Regions from separate parts of the Homo sapiens genome. Here regions 2, 3, 4, 5 and 6 are each linked to region 1. Evidence: promoter capture Hi-C in human tissues and cell types (Jung and others, 2019). All regions are on one chromosome and are shown on one strand. Each heading gives the region's core, a stretch centred on a gene start or on the middle of the fragment in contact. The rest is flanking DNA. Distances are from core to core; before and after follow the strand shown. Region 1 holds the start of SMPD3 (sphingomyelin phosphodiesterase 3). Region 2 overlaps TANGO6 (transport and golgi organization 6 homolog). Region 3 overlaps TANGO6 (transport and golgi organization 6 homolog). Region 4 overlaps CDH1 (cadherin 1). Region 5 overlaps CDH1 (cadherin 1). Region 6 overlaps CDH1 (cadherin 1).

Evidence for each region. The method cuts DNA at HindIII sites, captures the fragments that hold promoters and counts their contacts. A contact is called where the count stands out against the background at its distance.
Region 2: a fragment that was not itself captured here is called in contact with the fragment with the promoter of SMPD3 in region 1 in 2 of the 25 tissues and cell types used here (heart left ventricle and pancreas).
Region 3: a fragment that was not itself captured here is called in contact with the fragment with the promoter of SMPD3 in region 1 in 2 of the 25 tissues and cell types used here (IMR-90 fibroblasts and lymphoblastoid cells).
Region 4: a contact is called between a fragment that was not itself captured here and the fragment with the promoter of SMPD3 in region 1, in 1 of the 25 tissues and cell types used here (H1 embryonic stem cells).
Region 5: a contact is called between a fragment that was not itself captured here and the fragment with the promoter of SMPD3 in region 1, in 1 of the 25 tissues and cell types used here (liver).
Region 6: a fragment that was not itself captured here is called in contact with the fragment with the promoter of SMPD3 in region 1 in 1 of the 25 tissues and cell types used here (adrenal gland).

What each region holds. Positions count from the first base shown.
Region 1 is chr16:68,447,206-68,450,789 of GRCh38, forward strand. It overlaps SMPD3 (sphingomyelin phosphodiesterase 3), which reads right to left and starts at 1,303. Exons shown (of 9, transcript NM_018667.4): 1 at 1,148-1,303. It overlaps LOC124903705 (a long non-coding RNA gene), which reads left to right and starts at 1,635. Exons shown (of 2, transcript XR_007065097.1): 1 at 1,635-1,861; 2 at 1,960-3,584. RefSeq lists a silencer at 1,001-1,520 and an enhancer at 1,621-1,670. The HindIII fragment of the contact is 13,014 bases long and covers 1-3,584 here.
Region 2 is chr16:68,928,104-68,931,285 of GRCh38, forward strand. TANGO6 (transport and golgi organization 6 homolog) reads left to right here. Exons shown (of 18, transcript NM_024562.2): 14 at 2,135-2,192. Among named protein-coding and RNA genes, the nearest start is that of TANGO6, 86 kb to the left of the region's middle. The HindIII fragment of the contact is 4,152 bases long and covers 1-3,182 here.
Region 3 is chr16:68,949,023-68,952,177 of GRCh38, forward strand. All of the region lies in intron 14 of TANGO6 (transport and golgi organization 6 homolog), which reads left to right. Among named protein-coding and RNA genes, the nearest start is that of TANGO6, 110 kb to the left of the region's middle. The HindIII fragment of the contact is 4,454 bases long and covers 1-3,155 here.
Region 4 is chr16:68,804,942-68,808,107 of GRCh38, forward strand. All of the region lies in intron 3 of CDH1 (cadherin 1), which reads left to right. Among named protein-coding and RNA genes, the nearest start is that of TANGO6, 37 kb to the right of the region's middle. The HindIII fragment of the contact is 4,088 bases long and covers 1-3,166 here.
Region 5 is chr16:68,786,620-68,789,861 of GRCh38, forward strand. All of the region lies in intron 2 of CDH1 (cadherin 1), which reads left to right. Among named protein-coding and RNA genes, the nearest start is that of CDH1, 51 kb to the left of the region's middle. RefSeq lists an enhancer at 124-268 and a cis regulatory region at 196. The HindIII fragment of the contact is 3,553 bases long and covers 1-3,242 here.
Region 6 is chr16:68,755,546-68,758,838 of GRCh38, forward strand. The region is part of intron 2 of CDH1 (cadherin 1); the gene reads left to right. Among named protein-coding and RNA genes, the nearest start is that of CDH1, 20 kb to the left of the region's middle. RefSeq lists enhancers at 982-1,126, 1,120-1,219, 1,711-1,855, 1,900-1,949, 3,192-3,293 and cis regulatory regions at 1,054, 1,783, 3,264. The HindIII fragment of the contact is 6,946 bases long and covers 1-3,293 here.

The DNA.
Region 1 (3,584 bases), core at 53-2,552:
ACCGCGCGTCCTGGAAGCAGGTCCCCGAGCCTCGGTTTGGGGTGCGCCCTGCATCGGAGCGGAGCAGCCCCCAAAGATTCGCGGGCACGAGGTTGGGGGTAGCGTCTACCTGGAGCTCTTGAGTGCTTGAGGGGAGACCCGCCCCGTCCCGCTCTGTACATGCCCATCTGGGATTGGCCCCCAGCTGCGGTGCCAGAGGCTCGGTCCCCGGGGCGTGGTGGGCTAGGGCGGGTCGTCTCGACTTAGAGCCCCAGGCCTGGATCCAGGTAGGGAGGGCCTGGGAGATAAGGCCCAGGTGGGGAGAGGTGGGGAGGGGTCCCTCCTGTCCTCGTACATCCCCCTACACTACCTCTCACACCCAGGCCACCCAACCCTCGGCGCGGGCCCGAGCGCGGGGGATTCCGAGTGTCAGTGCTTTCCTCCACCCGCGACTCCGAGAAGGATGGGGAGGGGTCTCCCAGCGTTTCCCTGCCACATTCCAATTCCACCCTTCACCAGTAACCTAGGAGGGTCCAAGTGGGAGGGGTAAGAGTCCTCTGTCTCTTCCACATCCTCGATCCTCCTCTTTACAAAACCCTAGGGCCAAGGGAGGAGGGGGGAATAGGGAGGGGGGCGAGTGTGGAGGAAGGGGCCTGGGCAAGGGTCTTCCCTGCATCCCAAGCAGCCCTTCCTGAATACCCCTGGGAGGGTCTGGGCTAGGGGAGCGGTCCGCGATCTCATCCATCACCACCAGACTCCTTTGTAACCTCGAGCAGCCGAAGTGTTGCGGGGAGGGGTCCCCCTGCCTCGAGTCCCTTCATCCCACAACACCTCATCCTCCCGTCCTGAGTAATCCGAGCAGCCCCGTCGCCAGGCACAGCGGGAGGGAGGGTCCAAGCCTCCTCGCTCTCCCAGGAGAGATGGGGGGTGGGGGTGACCCCCAGCCCTCGCCCCTCATACCCAAGAGCCTTCTCCATGATAAAACGAAAACTAACCCAAGCTGCTCCGACCTCCGGCGCCCGGCCACGGGAGGCCCCTAGTCAGTCGGCGGCTGTCCGGGACCCGCGGTCCTGAGAGCAACGAGAACACGTCCCGTCAACTCCCCAGCCCCTCACGCCTCGGTTCGCCCGCTCCCCAAGAAAACAAAAGCGAATTCAGCAGCACTGACCTCTGACGGCGGGCGGGAGGGCGGTCAGCGCCCGGCAGCGCACCCCGCTCCTCCCGGCTCCTCACAGCCCGGGCTCCCGGCCGCAGATCTGGCGGCGGCCGCAGCGGCGGCGGCTCTCGCGGCTCTCGGGTCCGGAGCCTCCCTCAGACTCAGCACCTGGAGCGGCGAACAGCTCCGCGCTTCATTCCTCTGACCCCGCCTCCCTCGCGCCGCCGGAGCCAATGGTGACCCGGACCCCGCCCAGGAGTCTGCCCATTGGGGGCGTCCTCCCCTCTCCCTCCGGCCCCGCCCGCAGGTTCCTGGGTCTCTCCTTCAAGACCACATCCCCCAGAGACCGGCGGAGTTTCGCACAGCCTTCTGGGACTTATAGTTCTTTAAGGACGCGGAGTGGGCTCACGCCGCGGGTAGGCAAACAGAGCGGGACTGCATTTCCCAGAGTGCACTGAAGACACGGAGGCGCGGAGCAGGGCGGGAGGACCGTTTCCATAGCAAAGACGACCAGCCGAGGATGGCTGGCGGAGGCGTGGGGCAGGCCGCAGGACCCTCGAAGGATCGTGTGAGACCCCGGGCAGCCTCTTGGGAGGCCATTTCGAGGAGAAAACCTTGATTTCTGCCTCAGGACCCTGGGCCTCAGTTTTCCTATCTGAGAAGAAGGGCGAAGAGCTGTGCCCCCGACCACACCCGTCGGTGATGGGGCAAACCGAGGGCAAGCAGGTTTGGTTCCTGCCCAGCAAAGGTGAGGGAGGACGGAGGAGACTCTCCCACCGCATTCAGAACTTTATTCCTTTATTTTTGTCTCAATCTTGTCATAGAGGAGCGCTTCACTTTTGGTCATCCCTTGGGCCACCAGGGCCTTCCCGTCTCCGTCTTCCCATCGCAGGTCCTGGCCTCCTTCACACCACTCCAGGATACCGCAGCATCTCCCCCAGCGCAGCAGACGGAGGGCGCTTCACATGCCCCCGGACCTAAGCCCACTCTCCCCTTCAAGATCTGGACTCCACTTTTTTGCAACACTCTTAACTTCTTTGGAAGCTGGGAAGCCTCCTACTCCCTTGGGCCTCTCCACCCTGCCCTCAGCTAACTCGTCGGCAAGCCCCAGCCTAGACATTGCCTGTTTTGTGAAGACATCTAGATGCTGGGCTGTCTGTTGAGTGCCCCACCCTGTGTTTGAGCAGCACCCTCTACTTCCCCTGTTCTACTTGCATGTTTATGTGCTCGTCTTCCTCATTATAAGATCCACAGGGGAGGGGCCATGTCTATATTATTCATACTTACAGTCCAGTGTCTAGTATCTGGCACGTAGTAGGCACTCACTAGCTATTGAGATATAAATATAGATATTTGTTGAATTGAAAATGAATTGGGCCGGGCGTGGTGGCTCACGCCTGTAATCCCAGAACTTTGGGAGGCCGAGGCAGGTGGATCACTAGGTCAGGAGTTCGAGACAAGTCTGACCAAAATGGTGAAACCCAGTCTCTACTAAAAATACAAAAATTAGCTGGGCGTGGTGGCACGTGCCTGTAATCCCAGCTATTCAGGAGGCTGAGGCGGGAGAATCGCTTGAACCCCGGGAGGTGGAGGTTGCAGTGAGTCGAGATTGCACCACTACACTCCAGCCTGGACAACAGAGTGAGACCCTGTCTCAAAAAAAAAAAAAAAAAAAGAGAAAAAGAATAAAATTAAAAAAAAGAAAATAAAGGAACCTCATTCACATACACCTCCAAAACTCTGATTTCCTAAAGTTGGGCATTTCTCATTGCTGGAGGTGTTCAGTTAGAGGCATGCCGCCCCCTTGAAGAAATGTTTATTTCATTTGTACAGTGGGTTGGGATTTTACCTGAATGCTTTGAGTACCCTTTTAATCCTATGATGCTAGAGATTGATAGACCCATGCCTATTATTCCTGTCAGTTCTCCCTGAAATGTCATCAGTTCTTCATGTTCCGCTATTTCTAGCTGTTGGCCCTACTCGTTTCTGTGCCTAAATGCCCTACCTCCCACTCCTTTTCTGAGAAAGATCTTCTGCCCTGTCAGTTATGAAGTAAAGATGTCCTAAGATTCCTGCTCTTTCTTTTTTCTTTCTTTCTTTCTCTCTCTTTTTTTTTTTTTTCGACGGAGTTTCGCTCTTGTTGCCTGGAGTGCAATGGCTGGAGTGCAATGGCGCGATCTCAGCTCACTGCAGCCTCTGCCACCTAGGCCCACCTTGGTCTCCCCAAGTGCTGGCATTACAGGTGTGAGCCACTGTGCCCGGCCTCCTGCTCTTCTTTCAACCCTCTGCTCAGCATCTTAGGCCTCATTGGTGATGTCCCACCTTGCTAGGTAGCATCTTTCCTGAATATTTCTCCACTAAACATTCTGATGTTGGCTAGATGGCCTAGTTAATCTACACATTTCATTTTATCACCTTCTCCAGATGTTTTTTTGTGTATGTCAGCTGA
Region 2 (3,182 bases), core at 262-2,761, 480 kb after region 1:
AGACACATGGGCACAGGGTGGGGCATTCATTCAACTCAAGTATTTTTGGAGCCTGGACTATGTGTCAAGTGCTGTTCTGGACCACCCTCCAGAAATTTGTGAATTTTGTGAGGAGGCAACACTTAGACACAGGAAAGATTTATTTAGACACAGGAAAGACTTAAACTCCTCAAATGAATATGAACTGAGTGCCAATTTTTTTTTTTTTTTTTTTTTTTTGAGATGGAATCTCGCTCTGTCCCCCAGGCTGGAGTGCAGTGGTGCAATCTCGGCTCACTGCAAGCTCCGCCTTCTGGGTTCACACCATTCTCCTGCCTCAGCCTCCCGAGTAGCTGGGACTACAGGTGTCTGCCACCACCCCCGGCTAATTTTTTGTATTTTTAGTAGAGACGGGCACCATGTTAGCCAGGATGGTCTCGATCTCCTGACCTCGTGATCCACCTGCCTCGGCCTCCCAAAGTGCTGGGATTACAGGCGTGAGCCACCACACCCATCCTTCAAAATTTTTGCATGCAAGAAATGCTGTGGGCAGTCAGGAAAAAGAGAAAGTTGAAATCTTCTGGAGGATGTAGGCCTTAATATGGCCATAACAAACTAGTAAAGTTTGAGCAGATGAAAGAGGGGTGGGATAGCTTGAACAAATTCCCAGAGATGGGAAAGTACCTTTTGTGATAAATAGGTCTGCTTCAACACTGTGACCCAGCCCAGATAAGCCACCTGTTTTCTCTGGGCATCTTTAGTGGGGCGTTGGGCAAAACTGGGTCTCCTCCCCTCTTCTCTCCCTTCATCGTGGTGAAATAGCTGTTTTTTGTTTTGTTTTGTTTTGTTTTTTTGAGACAGGGTCTCGCTCCGTCGCCCAGGCTGGAGTGCAGTGGTGCGATCTCAGCTCACTGCAATTTCCACCTCCTGGGTTCAAGTGATTCTTCTGCCTCAGCCTCCCAAGTAGCTGGGATTACAGGTGCCCACCAACACACCCAGCTAATTTTTGTACGTTTAGTTGAGATGAGGTTTCACCATGTTAGCCAAGCTGGTGTTGAACTCCTCACATCAAGTGATTCACCTGCCTCGGCCTCCCAAAGTGCTGGGATTACAGGCATGAGCCACCGCGCCTGGCCTTAAATATCCTTTTATACACCTATTTGAAGGTGAATTCAATGAACATCTTGGAATTTTTTTTAGCTTAATTAAACCTTCTTCTGCTGTACATAATTGGTCACCAAGTCCTGTCAATTCTTTTTTCAAAGAAGTCTTTCAAATGTATCTTATCCTCTTTATTTCCATGGCCATTACCCTAAATTAAGCTTCCCTTGCTTACTCCATAAAAGATTCCCTACCTTCAAAACTGGCCGTCTTCCTAACTGGGGTAATTTTAGGCTCTCCGTACATACTTCACATGTAGAGACCAGCAGCATCAAGTTGATGTCAAGAATTACTGTGCCAACGAAGAACACAGCATTATATATGGAGCAGACACTTCCGTCTTCCTTTCTCTGGCTCTCATGTTGGGGCCTAAACCTAACATATCATGTAATATCTTCCAGATAAGCTGTACTCACTGTAGTTGATACCCCTGATAGGTTCCTAAATTGTAAGATATTTTGAGAGTAATTTGTTACTAATATCAATTAAAGTGCTGAAATTTACAAGATTTTCAAAAATAAATTAGAACAGATTCAAAGTTATCTCAATAATAACATCTCTATCTCACTTGCACTTCCATATGCTTTGTGAGTACAAGAGAAAAGGATCAAATTGCAGCAAATGTGCCATCCATTGCACATAACCCCAAACCTTGTCTCTTGTGTGTCACACCCCGTAGTCTGTCATGCCATATGTGAGAATGTTATTCACCATGGCTGTCATGGAAAAATGTTGAGGATTGTTCTTCCATCGGTTTCCAGGACTACTGCTGGAAGAATACAAGTATCTCCCCCAGTCTCTATACTTTTTTAATGGTTATAAAAATGAGACTTAAGCATATATGCCATTTCCCCCACAAAACTCTGTCAGACCAGTTTCTACCCAAGAAAAACAAGAAGCGAAGCATTTACTCCTTTGAGCTGCTGATAAGGGAGCCTCTTAAATCTTCCTTGTTCTTTGTAAATCTTATCACTGCTGTATTTTGTGGTTCCAGATATTCTTGGAAAACTTGGAACATGAAGACACTTTTGTATATCTATCTGCAATTCAGGGTAAGTCAGTCCTGGTTAAAGGACTTTAAGTATGTGGACCAGAGACTGTATCATGTTTATTTGCACAAAATCTCTAAAGTCCTAGGGCCAGGAGACTACTGGTCATTTTGTCCGTCTTCCTGCCTCCTAGCTAGGACACTTTAAGTCATAATAATAATATTCCTGAAGGGTTTCCAAAGAGTCCCTATAGAGTTTCAGTGTCTCATAATGATGAGGAAGTTTTTATTAATGTTTACATATTCTGTAGATTAAATCGTATTTCCTCTAATTCAAGGAGGTAAAGAATGACTCACACATGAACTCTTATCACATTAACCTTTTATGTTAGTCGGCTACTGTCTTTTTTTTTTTTTTTTTTGAGACAGAGTCTCGCTCTGTCACCCAGGCTGGAGTGCGGTGGTGTGATCTCAGCTCACTGCAACCTCTGCCTCCCGGGTTCAAGTGATTCTCCTGCCTCAGCCTCCCAAGTAGCTGGGATTACAGGTGCCCGCCACCACGCCCAGCTAATTTTTTATATTTTTAGTAGAGACAAGGTTTCACCATGTTAGTCAGGCTGGACTCGAACTCCTGACCTCCAGTGATCCACCCACCTTGGCCTTCCAAAGTGCTGGGATTACAGGCGTGAGCCACCACGCCCAGCCTCAACTACTGTCTATATGCACCTTTGCTCTCTCGTTAAGCTAAAAGAACTCAGGGTATTAAATATTTTCTTATCAAAAAATTTTTTGCAGTAACTTTATTTCTCTTTTTATGGTTCTTTGTTGTTCTCCACATCCCCTTTAACTTGTGGGCTCCAAATCTAGAGAGGATGTAGAGAATAAGGCACCCTTCCCAAAAGGTCCAGAAGCAGACATGGTGAGGTCAGAGTTAACTCAGTTTCCCTTGGCTCCATCAGCGAGGTACAGTCAACAGACCACCTGGGTTGGCCATCCCATTACCATGCGTTGGCAAATTACTTAATCCCTGTGGGCTTCAATTTTTTGTTATCTG
Region 3 (3,155 bases), core at 539-3,038, 500 kb after region 1:
CTAAAAATACAAAATTAGCTGAGCGTGGTGGTGCATGCCTCTAATCCCAGCTACCTGGGAGGCTGAGGCTGGAGAAACGCTTGAACCTGGGAGGGGCAGGTTGCGGTAAGCCGAGATCGCGCCATTGCCCTCTAGCCTGGGCAACAATAGTGAAACTCCGTCTCAAAAAGAAAGAAAGAAAGAAAGAAGTCAATCCTGGGATTTATCCAGTTTACTGAGAGCGTGAGTTAAGTAAGCACGTAGCTTTCTGTATAGAACTTTTGAGATCTGTTGTATTTCTGGTGCCAATAAATGACATTTAAAAATAGCTTACCTTGGCCAGGCATGATGGCTCACACCTGTAATCCCAGCACTTTGGGAGGCCGAGGCAGGCAGATCACTAGAGGTCAGGAGTTTCAGACCAGCCTGGCCAACATAGTGAAACTTTGTCTCCACTAAAAAGACAAAAATTAGCCGGGCATGATTGTCAGTGCCTGTAATCCCAGCTACTTGGGAGGCTGAGGCAGGAGAATCGCTTGAACCCGGGAAGCAGAGGTTGCAGTGAGCCGAGATTGCACCATTGCACTTTAGCTTGGGAGATGAGCGAAACTCTGTCTCAAAGAAAAAAAAAAAAAGCTTACTTTAAAATAATACAAATTATGAGGATGTGAAGAAATGTTGCCGGTAGAAATGTAAAATGGTACAGTTGCTTTGAAAAATAGTCTGGCCATTTTCAAAAGGTTAAACATGGTTATCATGTGACCTATCAGTTCCACTCCTAGGTATATACCCATGAGAAATGAAAACATATGTCCACACAAAAGTTTATATTTATATATATATATAGGCATTATTTATAATAGCTGAAAAATTGAAACAACATACATATTAATATCTACCGCCTGATGAATGGATTCATAACATCTGATGTATGTACACAGTGGAATATTATTTGGCAGTAAAAAGGAATGAACTATTGATTCATACTGCAACATGAATGAATTTGAAAATATGGTAAGGAAAAGAAGCCAGACACAAAAGGCCATGTGTTGTATGATTCCTATATGAATGAAATGTCCAAAACAGACAAATGTATAAATTCAGAAAGTAGAGTAATAGTTGTCAGAGGATGTGGGGGATGGAGGAGTAAGGAGTGACTGATAATGGATATGAGGTTTCTTTGTGAGGAGATGAAAATGTTTTGGAATTAGATAGTGGGGATTATTGCACAGCCTGGTAAATATACCAAAACTAACTGAATTGTACACTTAAAAAAATTAAAGGCCACACGTGGTGGCTCATGCCTGTAATCCCAACACTTTGGGAGGCCGAGGCAAGCAGATCACCTGAGGTCAGGAGTTTGAAACCAGCCTGGTCCTACATGGTGAAACCCCATCTCTACGAAAAATACGAAATTAGCTGGGCATAGTATGGGTTCCTATAATCCCAGCTACTCTGGAGGCTGAGGCAGGAGAATCGCTTGAACCTGGGAGGCGGAGGTTGCAGTGAGCCGAGATCGAGCCACTGTATTCCAGCCTGGGCGACAGAGCGAGACTCTGTTTTAAAAAAAAAATTTAGGATGGGCGCGGTGGCTCACACCTGTAGTCCCAGCACTTTGGGAGGCTGAGGTGGGTCGATCACGAGTTCAGGAGTTCGAGACCAGCTTGGCCAACATGGTGAAACCCCATCTCTACTAAAAGTACTAAAATTAGCCAGGTGTGGTGGCGGGCACCTGTGATCCCAGCTGCTCAGGAGGCTGAGGCAGGAGAATCGCTTGAGCCTGGGAGGCGGAGGTTGCAGTGAGCTGATGTGGCACCGTTGCACTCCAGCCTGGGCAATAGAGCAAGACTCTGTCTCAAAAAAAAAGTAAATTTAAAAAATTTAAAAATAACGTTAAAAACTCAGAACAGTACTGTTGTTTTTTGTGGAGCTCTCAGGACTATGAAAGATGGGTGGGCAGGATTTAGACACTCAAATGAGTGTGAGGGGATTGAAGCTGAGGGAAAAGCAAAGGTAGGAAGATGTTCAAGAGTGGGGCCAGACCAGGTGCTGTGGCTGCTGCCTGTAATCCCAGCACTTTGGGAGGTCGATGTGGACGATCACTTGAGCCCAGTAGTTTAAGACCAGCCTGGACAACATGGCAAAATCCTGTCTCTATAAAAATTTTAAAAATTAGCCGGGTGTGGTAGCGCATGCCTATAGTCCCAGCTACTCTGGAGGCTGAAGTGGGAGAATCACTTGAGCCCAAGAGGTCAAGACTGCAGCAAGCTGTGATCATACAACTGCACTCCAGCCTGGGTGACAGAGACCCTGTCTCAAAAAAAAAAGGCAGGGTGGGGGGGTTGGGCAAATATAAAGTATAACAGAAGGGAAGCAGTTCAGGTTGTTAGTGGAGCAAAATGGGCATGAAGGCAAGGTATAGGAGTCAGTATCTTCATCTCCCATTTTTCAGACAAAGAAACCAGGGCTAAGAGGCCAACTGCTTGGCCAACCAGTATGTAATAGAGGCTGGATTCAACTCCAAAGCCAAGGCCCTTATTTATGCCTCTGTACTTCCTTCCTTTTTCCATTGCATTTTCTCACCTTTGTCACAACACCATGGCCTCTGTTCTTTTTTTTTTTTTTTTTTGAGACAGAGTCTCGCTCTATCGCCTAAGCTAGAGTGCAGTGGCGTGATCTCAGCTCACTGCAAGCTCTGCCTTCCCGGTTCACACCATTCTCCTGCCTCAGCCTCCTGAGTAGCTGGGACTACAGGCACCCGCCACCACGCCCAGCTAATTTTTTGTATTTTTAGTAGAGACGAGGTTTCACCGTGTTAGCTAGGATGGTCTCGATCTCCTGACCTTGTGATCCACCCGCCTCGGCCTCCCAAAGTGCTGAGATTACAGGCGTGAGCCACCACACCTGGCCAGCCTCTGCTCTTACGGATGGTAAAATTAAACCATGGAACCATGGATCATGACATTTTCAGTGAAGCAATTAAATACTTCTTAATTTCATGGCTTCTGGGGCTCCTTTAAAGTCCCTCACCTCCTATTCATATAGACTAGCTGTCACAAAGGCAGGATTCATGACCAAGAAGGCAACATGAGATACCTCCAGGTAAAGAGTCAGTTGCTTAAATGTCCACTTTACAAGCTATTAAGGAGGTCTAAGTACCTTCCCTGCAGAACAGC
Region 4 (3,166 bases), core at 128-2,627, 360 kb after region 1:
TGCCTCAATCTTCCATGTAGCTGGGACCACAGGGTGCACCACCATGCCCAGCTAATTTTTTTTTTTTTTTTTTTTTTTGTAGAGATAGGGTTTCACTTTGTTGCGCAGGCTCAAAATCTCTAAATTTGTGTAAGAATAGATCTTAGTCTCTAGTCCTTTCATCTTATTTGGGTGAGTTTTCTCAGTCTGGCATCCTTCCTTTCTTTTCTTTTTACTTTTCTTTTCTTCTTCTTCCATTTCCCTTCCTTTTGTGTTTTTAGTACAGATGGGGTTTTACCATGTTGGCCAGGCTGGTCTTGAACTCCTGACCTCAAGCAGTCCACCTGCCTTGGCCTCCCAAAGTGCTGGGATTATAGGCGTGAGCCACCGTGCCCCACCTGGTATCCTATTTTTCTGAGGGATCACTTCCACGTGCAGTGTTTTCAGGCATGACTCCCTTTCATTTAACACATGAAAATGTTAGTGTGATGTTTTGCCAGCACAGTGTTCATCATTATTCATTCTCTGAAAATATTCCACAGTCCTGGTGTCAGCAAGGCATGCATGTTCCTTTCCTTTCATTGTGATAACTGGGTTTGCATTCATCCATCAGTGCCCATGTGCTCACCATGGCTGTGCAAGGTGGCCAGTTTTTGTTGTTGTTTTGTTTGTTTGTTTTTGTTTCTTTTTTGAGATGCAGTTTCACTCTTGTCACCCAGGCTAGAGTGCAATGGCACAATCTCAGCTCACTGCAACCTCCACCTCCTGGGTTCAAGCAATTCTTCTGCCTCAGCCTTCTGAGTAGCTGGGATTACAGGTGTGCACCACCACACCCAGCTAATTTTTGTATTATTAGTAGAAACAGGATTTCACCATGTTGGCCAGGCTGGTCTTGAGCTCACCTCAGGTGATCCACCCGCCTCAGCCTCCCAAAGGAAAAAGCCTGCTGGGATTACAGGCATGAGCCACCAGGCCTGGCCAAGGTGGCTGTTTTAAGGCTTAGGATACAGTGGTTTTTCTGGGATTGGTTTTTGTTTTTGTTTTTGAGACAGAGTCTCGCTCTGTTTCCCAGGTTGGAGTGCAGTGACACAATCTCGGCTCACTACAACTTCTGCCTCCCAGATTCAAGCTATTTTCTTGCCTCAGCCTCCTGAGTAGCTTGAATTACAGGCACATGCCACCATGCCTGGCTAATTTTTGTATATTTATTTATTTATTTATTTATTTATTTATTTATTTATTTATTTTTGAGACAGAATCTCTCTCTGTCATCCAGGCTGGAGTGCAGTGGCATGATCTCAGCTCACTGCAACCTCTGCCTCCCGGGTTCAAGCAATTCTCACGCCTCAGCCTCCCAAGTAGTTGGGACCCCGTGTGTGCCACCATGCCCGGCTAATTTTTGTATTTTTAGTAGAGGCAGGGTTTTGGCACGTTGGCCAAGCTGATCCCAAACTCCTGACCTCAAGTGATCTGCCTGCCTTAGCCTCCCAAAGTGCTGGGATTACAGGTGTGAGCCACCACGCCTGGCCCAGGATACAGTGATGATGGTCAGTTTTTTATTTTGTTCATGTGCTGGGGTCAAATCTCAATAAAACCATAACTCAGTGTTTTCCAACCAGTCCAACCATCATCTCCATCATTACCTTTATTGAGCACTTACTATGTTTCAGGCAGTATTCACAGTGCTTTAAATGTGCAATACCAGCATCTCATTTAATCCTTCCAAGAATTATATGAGATAGGTTCTAATATTATCCCCATTTCAGACATTAGGAAGCTGTAATACAGAGAAATTAAGTAATATCTGCCTGGGGCAAGGAGGTACTGTCATGAGGATTCAAAGCCAGGCAGTCTAGCTCCAGAGCCTGCCCTTGGCGCAGGCTGGGCTGCCTCTCTAGGAGACAAACACAGGATGTAGAGGGCAGAGAGCATAGGTGTGTGCGCATGTGTGCACATGTGGCCAGTGTGCAGCATTGGGGAAGGGCTCTGTGATGATACCTGGTCATATCTCACATGTATCTGGTGCATCTTCAATCTTAAAGCCAGAAAATAGAGCTGAACTCAAACTTGGCAAGCAGTGATCAGTGACTGTGAGTTTTTATGTGGAGGGTGAGAGATGGAATTTTCCCCTGGAAACTTTACTGTGTTACCAGTAATCACCTTAAAACACTTAAACAATTTGGCAAATATTTTCCTTCCATTTTCAACTCTCTTATTTCCCTGCATGTGCATAAAGTTATCTTTATTGCATATGAAAACTGTTCAATACAAGTCTCAAAGGGTGTTTTTGGCTTCCATCCCAACAGCTTCTGTTAGAACAAATGGAAACCATATAGACATAATGATACAGTGAGATGAAGAGATTTATATTGATCACAAAGTAGTTCTTAGTACAAGTTCTCAAAATCTACTTGTTTTGGGATAACTCCACGTTGAGGACCTGTGTCCCCAAGAAAAATATAAAAGAGGCTGGGTGCGGTGACTCACACCTGTAATCCCAGCAAATTGGGAAGCCAAAGCAGGAGAATCGCTTGAGCCCAGGAGTTCGAGACCAGTCTGGGCAAGATGGCAAGACCCTGCCTCTAAAAAAATTTAAAAAATTTAAAAAATTAGGTGCACATGGTGGTGCATGGTGGTGGATGCCTGTAGTTCCAGCTACTTGGTAGGCTGAGGTCAGAGGCTTGCCTGAGCTCAGGAGTTCAAGGCTGCAGTGAGCTTTGATCACTTCACTGCACTCCAGCCTGGGTGACAGAGCAAGACCCTGTCTCTATTTAAAAAAAGAAAAGAAAAGAAATCGAAAACCCAAATATTCAGTTGTTGAGTAAGCTCTGATATTAAATCATCAGAGTATAATGTTGCTGTTAAAAATTATATTATGGGCTGGGTGTGGTGGCTCATGCCTGTAATCCCAGCATTTTGGGAGGCCACATTGCTTAAGCTTACAAGTTCGAGACCAGCCTGGGTAACATGGCAAAGCCCTACGTCTACTAAAAATACAAAAATTAGTCAGCCATGGTGGTGCACACCTGTAGTCCCAGCTACTCAGGAGGCTGAGATGGGAGGGATGGCTTGAGCCTGGGAGGCAGAGGTTCCAGTGAGACAAGATCTTGCCGCTGTACCCCAGCCTCAGTGATAGAGCCAGATCTTGTCTCAAAAAAATAAAAATGAGATTATGTAGGCTTGAAAC
Region 5 (3,242 bases), core at 483-2,982, 340 kb after region 1:
TATAGTCTGAGCAGTTACCTTTCCAGGCAGCCAGAGTAGATTCAGCAAATGCTCTTGGAAGCAGCTGCCTTTCCCATCAATGCTTATTTGTTCTTGATAATGAAAAATGATGCTAGCATCCATTAAAAGAGAAAAGGCATCCTCTTGTGAGCTCTATTGGACAAGTGAGCACTTGTTGTACAGTCATCTGCAAGCACATGTGACCTGGAGACTGTGGGAAATGCCTCACTTCGCAGTGTTGGCTCCCAGCTGTTCTCTTGGGCTGTTTGAGTTTTGTTCCAAAGGTCAGAGGCAGAGGGTCCGAGCCTTTCCAGCACAGCCCACATTTGAAAGTAGTGCAAGCCTCACATTCATTCTTTGTAGAAGGTTTCCAGATCTTGTTCTTGAGTTATTGAATGATTCAAAGGTTCTGAATTCCACAACGGCTTTCCTGTGTTTTTGCAGCCAGATTCAGCACATTTTGGTGTCAGCCAGTGCTTGGAAAATGTGGCCCTAGATTGATGCGTGTTTATATCTGGGTTGTGTTTTTTATAGAGAATAAATCTGTGGTTACTTTTACCCATCCCACATTGCTGTTAACTACCCCTGGAATTTCTCTCCCTCCGCAAGCCTAGTGCTGAAGAACAGAAGCTTTGGTGCTGGCTGGTTCTGGGGCGAATGTTCCTTCAGAGGCTGACCTGCTCTGTGACCTTGACAAGGCCCTGACCTTGAGCAAATGACTTAAGCCTTTCGCCTCAGTTGCTCATCAGCATTAAGGGGGTTAAAAACCCCTACCTGCCTCACAGCAACATAGGAGTCAATGTAAAGTTCACAGTGCCCACACGTAATGACTGTCATAGTGAATATTTACTCTCAAAAAGATTTTTTGTTTTCAGTTTTTAGTTGTTGATTTTTTTTTTTTTTAAATAGAGATGGGATCCTACTATGTTGCCCAGGCTGGTCTCAAACTCCTGGCCTCAAGTGATCCTCCCACCTCAGCCTCCCAAAGTGCTGGGATTACAGGTGTGAACCACCATGCCCAGCCTATAACTATTGTTTTGTTTTGTTTTGTTTTTTGGAGATAGAGTCTTGCTTTATCATCCAGGCTGGAGTGCAATGGTGCAATCTCAGCTCACTGCAACCTCTGCCTCCTGGGTTCAAGCAGTTCTCCCACTTCAGCCTCCCAAGTAGCTGGGATTATAGACACCCACCACCACGCCCGGCTAATTTTTTTTTTTTTTTTTTTGAGACAGTTTCACTCTTGTTGCCCAGGCTGGAGTACAATGGCATGATCTTGGCTCACCGCAACCTCCGCCTCCTGGGTTCAAGCAATTCTCCTGCCTCAGCCTCCTGAATAGCTGGGATTATAGGCATGTGCCACCACGCCCCGCTAATTTTTTGTATTTTTAGTAGAGACGAGGTTTCACCATGTTGGCCAGGCCTGTCTTAAACTCCTGACCTCAAGTGATTCGCCCTCCTTGGCCTCCCAAAGTGCTGGGATTACAGGTGTGAGCCACCGCACCCAGCCTACTGTTAATTAAGAATTGTTTATGGCTTCTCTTCTCTGCACTTTTTCATAACCTTGGCATTTTTGGGTGCCTGGATTCTTTCATTTTTGAACCATAGGACTTTGACTGATGGGGTATTCCTCAAGAGACCCTAATAGCTATATATTTCTTACTGGTTCATTGAGATTTAATTTACATACCACACAATTTACCCACTGTAAGTGTACAGTTAGATAATTTTTATAAACGTACACAGCTGTTGAGCTGTCATCACAATCCAGTTTTAGAATACTTCCACCACCTCCCAAGTTCCCTTGGGCCTATTGGTAGTCAAGCCTAACTCAGCTCCAGACAACCCTTGATCTGCTTTTTGTCTCTAGTTTTCTAGATTTTTCATATGAACTGTGTACTTTGGTGAACAGCTTCTTTCACTCGGTGTAATGCTTTTAAGGTTCATCTATGCTACTGCGTTTTGTGATGTTTGATCCTTTTTATTGCTGAGTAGCTATACCATATTTTACCCATCCTAATTACTTTTTGGGTTGACTGTATATAAGCCACATTTACACATTTTTTTAAATGGGTAAATGTGAAATAAGAAGAAAGTTGGGGCTGGGCATGGTGGCTCACGCCTGTAATCTCAACACTTTTGGAGGCCGAGACGGGTGGATCACAAGATCAGGAGTTCAAGACCAGCCTGACCAACATGGAGAAACCCCATCTCTCCTAAAAAAAACAAAAAACAAAAATTAGCTGGGTATGGTGGCGGGCACCTGTAATCCCAGCTGCTTGGGAGGCTGAGGCAGGAGAGTCACTTGAACGCAGGAGGCGGAGGTTGCGGTAATCTGAGGTCATGCCACTGCACTCCAGCCTGGGTGACAGAGCAAGACTCTGTCTCAAAAAATGAATGAATAAATAAAAGAAAGTTGGACAGGAAGATCCGTTCTCACTGTGTCACCCAAGCTGGAGTGCAGTGGCCCGAACATGATTCTCTGCAGCCTTGACGTCCCCAGCTCAAGTGATCCTCCTACCTCAGCCCTCCCAAATAATGGGGACTACAGGTGCATGCCACCATGCCCAGCTAATTTTTTTTTGTATTTTTTGTAGAGATGGGCTCTCCCCATGTTGCCCAGGCTGGTCTTGACGGGACTTGGACTCAAGTGATCCGCCCACTTCAGCCTCCCCAAAGTGCTGGGATTATAGGTGTGAGCCACCGCACCTGGCCAGGTGTTTAAAAATAGAATAATGTCCAGAACCTAATTTTGGAGAACAGGATGTAAAGGGATGCAGGACAAGGGAGTAAATGAATTAGGAAAGGGATATAGACCAGGATCTGAAGGACACATATCAGGTGTTAGCAGTGGTCTCTCTGCAAGGATGGGCTTGTGAATACTTTGTGCGATTGGCTCATCTTTTTTTTTTTTTTGTAACAGCTTTATCGAAACATAATCCACATAGCATATATTACACCATTTAAAGTGTAGAATTTAACAGTTTCCCTTATAGTCACAGACTTAAGCAAGCGTCACCACAATCAATTTCATAACATTTTCATCACCTCCAGAAGAAATCCCTCACTCCTTAGTTGCTACTGCCCCAGCCCTGGACATCTGGATTCAGTTAGTCTGAGGCAGGGGCCCTGGCTGAGTATTTTTAAAAAGTGCCCCAGGAGGCTGGGCCCGGTGGCTCATGCCTGTAATCCCAGCACTTTGGGAGGCTGAGGCGGGCGGATCACATGATGTTGGGAGTTCGAGA
Region 6 (3,293 bases), core at 335-2,834, 310 kb after region 1:
AGGCCAGGCATTTTCTAGAGAAGGAATCCTGAGGGCTCATTTTCACATCTCCTTCATTTTTTATTTATTTATCTTTCTCTTTTGACCTGCCACTTTAGGAACATCTCCTTTAAAGGGTATCAGATTCAAACCAGGAAATAATGCTCATTCCAAGCCACTCCCCACCCCTCAGCATGTTGCCCAAGAGGAATATTGCTCCAGCAGAGTTTTCTAAATTTTTTTTTTTTTTTTTTTTGAGACAGAGTCTTGCTCTTGTTGCCCAGGCTAGAGTGCAGTGGCCTGATCTCGGCTCATTGCAACCTCTGCCTCCCGGGTTCAAGCGATTCTCCCACCTCAGCCTCCGGTGTAGCTGGGATTACAGGCATGTGCCACCACACCTGGCTACTTTTTGTATTTTTCGTAGAGACGGGGTTTCACCATGTTGGCCAGGCTGGTCTCCAACTCCTGACCTTAGGTGATAAGCCCTCCTCGGCCTCCCAAAGTGCTGGGATTACAGGCATGAATGAGCCACTGTGCCTAGCCGAGTTTTCTAAAGATTCTTCCTGCAGAGGGATGATATTTTCTAAACAGGCATCATTTAGGGCATATTTTTTTTTTTTTTTTGTGCATGTATACGAGTGTTCCTAGGACCTGGTACTTACTTTGGAATCTCACCTTCAGTACGAGGCTTCCTCCCCAACAAATTCTTCACCACAACTATGTGGGAGTGTTTGAAAAAGGGAACAAGATGACCAACTTGTTGGTGGGGAGAGTTGTGGCTTTCCTATTGGAAAACATCATCCCTTGAATAAGCAGTGAGGCAAACACCTGGGCACTTACTTTATGAACAGGTGGGGTGGGGCCCTGAGTCACCGACATTGAGAGGCCTCTCCTGGTAAGGTTTTTCAATATCAGGTTGAATCAGCGGTGACATCACCCTCTATAGTGACAGGTACTCTAGGTGCCGGCTCTTACTCATAAGTCCCAGGAGATACTAGCCCTAGATCTCGTCTCTGTTAGCTTCGTGCTAAAAGGTTTTGGAGAAATAACAGCTGCTTGGTGACGTTCATGTGGCTGGTTTCATTACCACCTAACTCCCAGGCTTGTAATCATGACTAAATTTTCTGGAGAAAATAGAATTTGTGGTTGTATTTCTTGTAACTTTTGCCTTCTTGTCTCAAGTCTGCATTTAAAAAGAGGCCGGGTGCGGTAGCTCATGCCTGTAATCCAGCACTTCGGGAGGCCAAAGTGGGAGGATTGCTTGAGCCCAGAAGTTGGAGACCAGATTGGGCAACAAAGGGAAACCCTGTCTCTACATACAAAAACAATTACCCAGGCATGGTGGCGTGTGCCTGTGATCCCAGCTTCATGGGAGGCTGAGGCAGGTAGATCCCTTGAGTCCAGGAGGTTAAGGCTGCAGTGAGCTGCGTTTTGCACCACTGCACTCCAGCTTGGGTGACAGAGCGAGACGCTCTCTCAAAAACAAAAAACAAAACAAAACAAAGCCCTCTTCTACTCCTTGAGGTTTTTGGATGTTTCAGAGCTGTATTTTGAGTCTCTGATTTTTGTTTTGTTTTGTTTTGAGACAGAGTCTTGCTCTGTCACCCAGGCTGGAGCGCAGTGTTGGAGTCTCAGCTCACTGCAACCTCCACCTCCCAGGTTCAAGCTATTCTCCTTCCTCAGCCTCCCGAGTAGCTGGGATTATAGGCCAGCGCCACCATGCCCGGCTAATTTTTGTATTTTTAGTAGAGACAGGGTTTCACCATGTTGGCCAGGCTGGTCCTGACCTCAAGTGATCCGCCCACCTTGGCCTCCCAAAGTGCTGGGATTACAGGTGTGAGCCATGGCAACCAGCTGAGTTTTTGATTTTGAAACTTCCTGTAAGTTGTACTTATTTTTCTTTGGGCTTTGTAATTTGGTTATGATTTTTCATTCTTCTTTCTGCTAATCCTCTCACTTCCACCATGGGAGTGTTTAAATACCTGGGAAGCTGTTGAACCTAGGAAACCACATTTTACTTGCCAGATGTGAGGTTTCATTTCTGGTTTTGACAGAGATTTGACTCTTCAGCATTTATTTCTCTTTTAGCCTATGAGCTTCTCTTAGAGAAGATGAACTGGGAGGGTGGAATGCAGCAGGATTGCCTGGATTCCAATCCCAACTGGACCCTTACTTTTCCTGTGATTTTGGGCAAGTTTCTTTCTCTTTCTTTCTTTCTCTCTCTCTTTTTCTTTCTCTCTCTCTCCTTCCTTCCTTCCTTCCTTCCTTTCTTTCTTTCTTTTTTTTGAGACAGGGCCTTTTTCTGTCACCCAGGCTGGAGTGGAGTGGTACAATTTTGGCTCACTGCAACCTCTGCCTCCTGGGCTCAAGTCATCCCCATCCTCCCACCTCAGCCTCCCAAGTAGCTGGGACTACAGGTGCATGCCACCACTCCAGGCTAATCTTTTTTTTTTTTTTTTTTGTATTTTTTGTAGAGACGAGGTTTTGCCATGTTGCCCAGGCTGGTTTTGAACTCCTGAGCTCAAGCCATCTGCCCGCCTCAGCCTCCCAAAGTGCTGGGATTACGGATGTGAGTTGCTGCACTGGCCTGCAAGTTTCTTTCTTTTTTTTCAAATTTTTTTGTGTCCCTCCCCTCTATCCCAACCCCACCCCATTTTGCCTAGGGTAGGCTTCTTTTTATTTCTTTTTTTTTTTTTTTTTTTTTTTTTTTGAGAGAGAGAGAGAGAGAGAGACCCAAATGGGAATTCCCTAGGGCCAGTTTCTTAATCTTTCTGTGCCTCAGTCCCCTCACCTGTACAAAGGGGATAAACATAGCCCCTACCACAAAGGATTGCAATGAGGATTCAATGAGTTAGCATGTGCGAAGTGCTTCCAGTGCCTGGTACGTAGCAACCACTCTTCATTTAGTTTTTATTGGCTGGGCTCCGTGGTACACATCTGTAGTCCTAGCTACTTGGGAGGTTGAGGCAGGAGGATCACTTGAGCCTGGGAGTTTCGAGGCTGCAGTGCATGCTGATTGTGCCCGTGAATAGTTACTGCTCTCCAACCTGGTCAATGTCTCAAGAATCGATCTCTAAAAAAACAAATTAGTTTTTCTCATTAGATGTTTCTGCTTTAGACTTGTGTCAAGGGAGTGAAAAAGCATGGGGCGGGGGGCGGGTAGTGTAAGTGTCAAAGGAGCCACAGAGGATTGAGTATGAGGAAGAGTGATACCCCCTTATCACTTTGCTCTTGACCTCCTAAAGAATAAGACGCTCCTTTGACCCAACATCCATTTGAGTGCAATTTTTTTTTTTTTTGAGATGGAGTCTTGC